Linked DNA regions of Homo sapiens: region 2 is linked to region 1. Evidence: promoter capture Hi-C in 16 types of primary human blood cells and fetal thymus (Javierre and others, 2016). All regions are on one chromosome and are shown on one strand. The core of a region is centred on a gene start or on the middle of the fragment in contact, and the rest is flanking DNA. Distances in the headings are between cores, read along the strand shown. Region 1 holds the start of PPP1R8 (protein phosphatase 1 regulatory subunit 8). Region 2 overlaps DNAJC8 (DnaJ heat shock protein family (Hsp40) member C8).

Region 1 (2,863 bases), core at 264-2,763:
AGGTGTACCCAACAGCTCATTGAGAACGGGCCATGATGACAATGGCGGTTTTGTGGAATAGAAAAGGGGGAAAGGTGGGGAAAAGATTGAGAAATCGGATGGTTGCTGTGTCTGTGTACAAAGAAGTAGACATGGGAGACTTTTCATTTTGTTCTGTACTAAGAAAAATTCTTCTGCCTTGGGATCCTGTTGATCTATGACCTTACCCCCAACCCTGTGCTCTCTCCACTCAGGGTTAAATGGATAAAGGGCAGTGCAAGATGTGCTTTGTTAAACAGATGCTTGAAGGCAGCATGCTCATTAAGAGTCATCACCACTCCCTAATCTCAAGTACCCAGGGACACAAACACTGCGGAAGGCCACAGGGTCCTCTGCCTAGGAAAACCAGAGACCTTTGTTCACTTGTTTATCTGCTGACCTTCCCTCCACTATTGTCCTATGACCCTGCCAAATCCCCCTCTGCGAGAAACACCCAAGAATGATCAATAAAAAAATAAAAAATAAAAAACCAGAGGCCCTGCTAATGGTCTCTTAAAACCAGCTGGTGATCTAGGGCAAGCGAGCAATCCTTATGCTTCCTTGCCCTATAACCAAAAGCAAAAAATCCTTTTTAAAAAAATTAACCATTTGAGCCAAGCACAGTGATGATTTGGACCCCTGCTTTCTGACTGGACCTGCTCCTGGCTCCTGCTTGTCCAGAGTTTTCATAAACAGACTAGGTGACCCCTAATGCAGATTCCCTGACAATCTACAGGCCTAAACGTGAATTAGAAAAAAGTGAGTAGGGTGCCACTTTTTGGAGAAGGGCTGAAGAGAAACAATAATCACTCCAATCTCCGAGTTTTGCCCTTTAGCTTCTCCGCTTTGAGGGCAAAAGGCTGACGGTCTTAACCTAAACTCTGGAGGAGGATGTAGTCCCCAGATTTTTTCTTTCTTTACTTTTTTTTTTTTTTTTTTTGAGACGGAGTCTCGCTCTGTTGCCCAGGCTGGAGTGCAATGGCGCGATCTCGGCTCACTGCAACCTCTGCCTCCCGAGTGCAAGCGATTCTCCTGCCTTAGCCTCCCAAGTAGCTGGGATTACAGGCATGTGCCACTACACTCGACTAATTTTTGTATTTTTAGTAGAGACGGGGTTTCACCATGTTGGTCAGGCTGGTCTCAAACTCCCGACCTCAAGTGATCCGCCCGCCTCAGCCTCCGAAAGTGCTGGGATTACAGACGTGAGCCATCGCGCACGGCTTAGTCCCAAGATTTTAGAGCCAAGAAGCGTTTGCAGGAGGACGTAGGGAAAGACTGACTCCCCTCCCTACAAAGCCCCTTTTCCTTTGACACCTCCTGGCCAAGGAAAACCCTAACCACTGGAGACTTCCAGAGACGGCCAACTCGCACAAACGCTGAAAAAAAAAAAATCCCAAAAGCTCCTCTGTCCCCACTAGAAGCACCGCCCCCCGTACGGGCGTGCGTGAGCGTGCGTACGCACAGGCTGCTGGGATGCCGCTTTTCCCTTCTCGGTCTTCCAGTTTCCCGGCGTGCTTAGGGCGCGCCAAATGGGAGGGGGAGACGCAAGATGGCGGCAGCCGCGAACTCCGGCTCTAGCCTCCCGCTGTTCGACTGCCCAACCTGGTGAGTGGCGGGGCGGCCAGGGCTAGAGTGGCCCGGCCGGAGCTAGCCTGGGCTGGAAGGGCGGCTCTTTTTTTACTTTTCTGCTGCGAGCCGAACGGCTCAGAAACCCCGGAATGGTTGAGGAAAAACTGTTTGCTGCACCGGGCCGGGCGACGTGTTGAAGAACCGAGAGCCTGGAGCCCAGGCCCAGGAACTGAAGAAACCCGGGGTTGGGGGCTCAAAGGCGCTCACTTAGGCAGCCCCTTTGAGCGATTAGCCAGTCGCCGGAGCGCTTCGAGGCCTTGGCCCGAACTTACGCCCAACTCTTGACTGAGTGCCTGGTGCTCTCGTGGAGCATCGCATCTGGCCCCTTCCTGTACGTCCCGAGCGCGCTCGAGCCAGCCCCGGCCCCAACCCTACCTCCAAGCCCCGCATCCCTCTGTGGTTGCTGCATCCCTCGTGCGGCACTTGTCTGTCTGCCACAGAGAATACGAGGGTAGGTTAGCGCCATCCCTGCCCTCAGGGAGCTCCCAGTCTGTGGCACTAGTAGGCATTAGTAATGGTTGGCATGAACCCTTTTTATCCCTTCGAAAGTTCTTGGGAATAATGAAATAATTTAATTTGGTCTTTGAGTAGGGTACAAGTTGAATAAATATGAATTACCTTACAAGGAAACGCTTCTGAATTAAGAGTTTTTTTCTGCTGTAGCTCATCGCAGTGTATTGTTTGTTGCTTGTCTCTGTCTCCCGTTGTATTGCCATCCTCAAGGGCAAAGACTGCATCTTTGTATTCCCAGCTCCTAGGCCTGAGTCAGGCACATAGTAGGAATTCAGAAAGTATGTTTTGGATGTAACATTCCTCCTTTTTCCTGGACAAAATGGCCTTTTGTCCGGTGCATTGTCCTTTCCATAGAGGAGGGGTTGGGGCAGGATTGTGAGATGACTGTGTTGAATCTTCAGTTAGCTAGACAAGGATACGTTTTTTCATGTGCAAATCTAAAGGTTCTAGTGAGGTGGTTCTTTTTTCTAACTTCAAATTAGCAAACCCAAAAAGCAAGCAAATGTGTGGCTATTTTCTGGATCGCTTTGCACTTTTGTAGTAGTTGCTTCAGTCTACAAATTCTGTATCCATTTTGATCCCTCGCTGTATTGATTTCAAATTTGGGCCGAGATAGCAAACATAGTTAGAAAGCACTGTTTTTGAGATCACCTACCCTTTCCTTAGGATCTGGTAGGTACCAGGCACCGTTAGGTGCTTTGAC
Region 2 (2,863 bases), core at 144-2,643, 380 kb after region 1:
GACTTATGTATGCCCTCAAGAGCAAACAAAAATAACACCAGCTACAACTCAGTTTCCTTCAACTGAGTTCTTCCCAACTCTGTTATTAAGATGGACATAAACCTCCTCCTATTTTAAAAAAAGTTTACGCCTATCCTCTTGCTAGCCTTTGCCAAGCCTTGTTGCAAACCCTTCACAGGGACAAGAATAAAAATCAAGAGTCAAGAGTCACAGGCTGCTCCACGTTTCCACTCTAAGAATGGGGTAAGTGGCAATATGTGATGAGAGGGAGAGAACAACCCTTTCTCCCCAACACAGGACTGGTAGGGAAAGAGGTAGGAGCAGTGTACCAGCTACTCCTCATCTGAGTTCTTCTCTTAGGGGTGAATTACAGCTTCAGGCACACACTATTCATGACCACCACAGCAAAGTGGTAGAGAGCACAGAAGTAGCCACAGGTTGTGCCAGTAGGCATTACTATGTTCATATGTACCCTTCTACAAGGTGCCCAAGGCTTGCTGATACTTCCTGTAAACACAGCAGCACTATAAATACTTACAGTGTGTTCCACGTATTCTTTTCCTGCCTGAATTACATCCAGGGCCCTCTTCTTTTGCTCCTGATCCAGTAGCAACTTGTAAGCTTTGTCCACAGCTAATGCAAAACATTGAAATTAACTGTTTCTGCAAACACCCTCTGAAAGTCTGAACTATACTCAGGCAGTGTAAATGGACTTGTGCTCTCTAAAGCATTCCCTACTTTAATTATTTACTGTCGTTAAACTAAGTTAAAAAAAACATTCAACTATAGCAATGACTTTCCTTAAGAGCCTTGGAAAAAATTAAATATATACTCAAGGCTAAATACACTACATCTGGATTTAATTCAGTGATAAAATTCTTTATGTTCAAAGAAAAAAAATGATCCTATGCAATAACAGTCTTTGTTGGCATATAAAAGTTTTAACAAAGCAAAGTTAAGGTCTACTTCTTAAACAACAACATTCTGCTTTGAAATGGCAACTGCTCTACTGAAAACCACAGCTTCTTGGTGACCAGAAGACAAAACTATAACAGTCTTTGCTTGATCTAGGACAAGGAACAGTTAGGCCCTGCCATTCACAATCTAATACTCAGAAGCAGGTAAATTTACAAATACCTTCAAAAGCCTTTTGTGCTCTGTCAGCATCATCTTGATTTTTGTCAGGATGCACCAAGATGGATAACTACAATAAGAGAAAAGTTGGGGTTGTCAATAAGGGAAACATTTACTAACTTCCAGCCTGCCCTGTCTCGTTACAACCAAAAGCTCTAAGGTCCTACGGCAAAAAGAGACTCTTAGCAAAAGCATTTAAAAAATTAACAAATCTCTTTAAATGCCCAGAAATACTGATCTTTAACAAAATTCAAGCACCAAAAGGTAAAGGTACAACTAGGAAACATTTCAGGTTTTAATCACAAAGTTGAGACCAAACATGCCAGGCACAGAGGCTCACGCCTGTCATCCCACCACTTTGGGAGGCTGAGGTGAGAGGATTACTTAAGCCCAGGACTTCGAGACCAGCCTGAGCAACATAGCAAGACCCTGTCTCTACAAAAAAAAAATTTTTTAATTACCCAGACATGGTGGTGGTCGCCTGTAGTCCAAGCTATTTAGGAAGCTAACGTGGGAGAATCACTTGAGCCTGGGAGGTTGAGATTGTGCCACTGCACTCCAGCCTGGGCAACAAAGTGAGACCCTGTCTCCAGGAAAAAACAAAAACAAAAACAAAAACAAAAACAAATGGAAGCCTAGCACTATGAAGATGTTGTAATAATTTGGGGGAGGAGGGAGACTGAAAGGTATCAAGTTCCTATTATGTTCCTTATGCAGGTTGAGCACCCAAAATCCAAAAGGCTCCAAAATCTGAAACTTTCTGAGTGCTAACATGATGCTCAAAGGAAACGCTCATTGGAACATTTTGAATTTTCGGATTAGGGATGCTCGACCATTATGCATTCTGCAAATATTCCAAAATCTGAAAAAATCTGAAATCTGAAATACTTCTAGTCTCAAGCATTTCAGATAAGGGATACTCAACCTGTACTAAGCACTAAGGTGGCTAAAGCAGGTATGAGACATCAACTCTCTCCTAAAAGAACTCCTAATCTAAAGCAGTTTCTCATTCTGCCTGTGCTCCAACCCTGTGAAGCTTCTGAAAAAGACAACATTCTAATTTCCACCCTCAGACCTTCTGAGTTAGTCTTTGGCATCTGCACTTTGTAAACCTCTACTAGACTGGGTTTCAGATGATCGTAGGGAATTAGCCCTTATTTTGTTAGGTGGGATAAGTGATTATGCAAGAAAATGTCCTTTTTTTGGGAAGGGTACAAGCTGAAGTATTTAGGGGTAAAGCATCATGGTTTATTGCAATTTACAATGATTCAGCCAAAAATATATAGTTAAATATATAGTCAGTGTCTGCCAGGAGCAGTGGCTCCCGCCTGTAATCCCAGCACTTTGGAAGGCTGAGGCTGGCAGATCACTTGAGGTCAGGAGTTCGAGACCAGCCTGGCCTACATGGTGAAACCCCGTCTCTACTAAAAATACAAAAATTTGGCAGGCACAGTGGCACACATCTATAATACCAGCTACTCAGGACGCTGAGGCAAGAGAATCACTTGAACTCAGGAGGTGGAGGCTGCCGTGAGCCAAGATCGCAACACTGTACTGCAACCTGGGTGACAGAGCCGGACTCCGTCTCAATAAATAAATAAATATATATATATATATATATATATATATATATATATATATATATATAAATGAAATTAACTATTCAATATAGATGGTGGATACATGAATATTCGTTGTTCTATTCTTTTTTTTTTTTTTTTTTTTGAGA

Evidence for each region. The method cuts DNA at HindIII sites, captures the fragments that hold promoters and counts their contacts. A CHiCAGO score of 5 or more calls a contact.
Region 2: a contact is called between a fragment that was not itself captured here and the fragment with the promoter of PPP1R8 in region 1, in 3 of 17 cell types (M1 macrophages, M2 macrophages and endothelial precursors). The highest score is 5.6, in M1 macrophages.

What each region holds. Positions count from the first base shown.
Region 1 is chr1:27,829,269-27,832,131 of GRCh38, forward strand. PPP1R8 (protein phosphatase 1 regulatory subunit 8) reads left to right here and starts at 1,514. Exons shown (of 7, transcript NM_014110.5): 1 at 1,514-1,623. The coding sequence starts at 1,568. It overlaps LOC124903885 (a long non-coding RNA gene), which reads right to left and starts at 2,515. Exons shown (of 2, transcript XR_007065562.1): 1 at 1,481-2,515. RefSeq lists enhancers at 993-1,778, 1,652-1,821, 1,779-2,563 and a silencer at 1,442-1,521. The HindIII fragment of the contact is 9,216 bases long and covers 1-2,863 here.
Region 2 is chr1:28,209,434-28,212,296 of GRCh38, forward strand. It overlaps DNAJC8 (DnaJ heat shock protein family (Hsp40) member C8), which reads right to left. Exons shown (of 9, transcript NM_014280.3): 4 at 1,138-1,204; 5 at 539-633. Among named protein-coding and RNA genes, the nearest start is that of DNAJC8, 22 kb to the right of the region's middle. The HindIII fragment of the contact is 1,549 bases long and covers 620-2,168 here.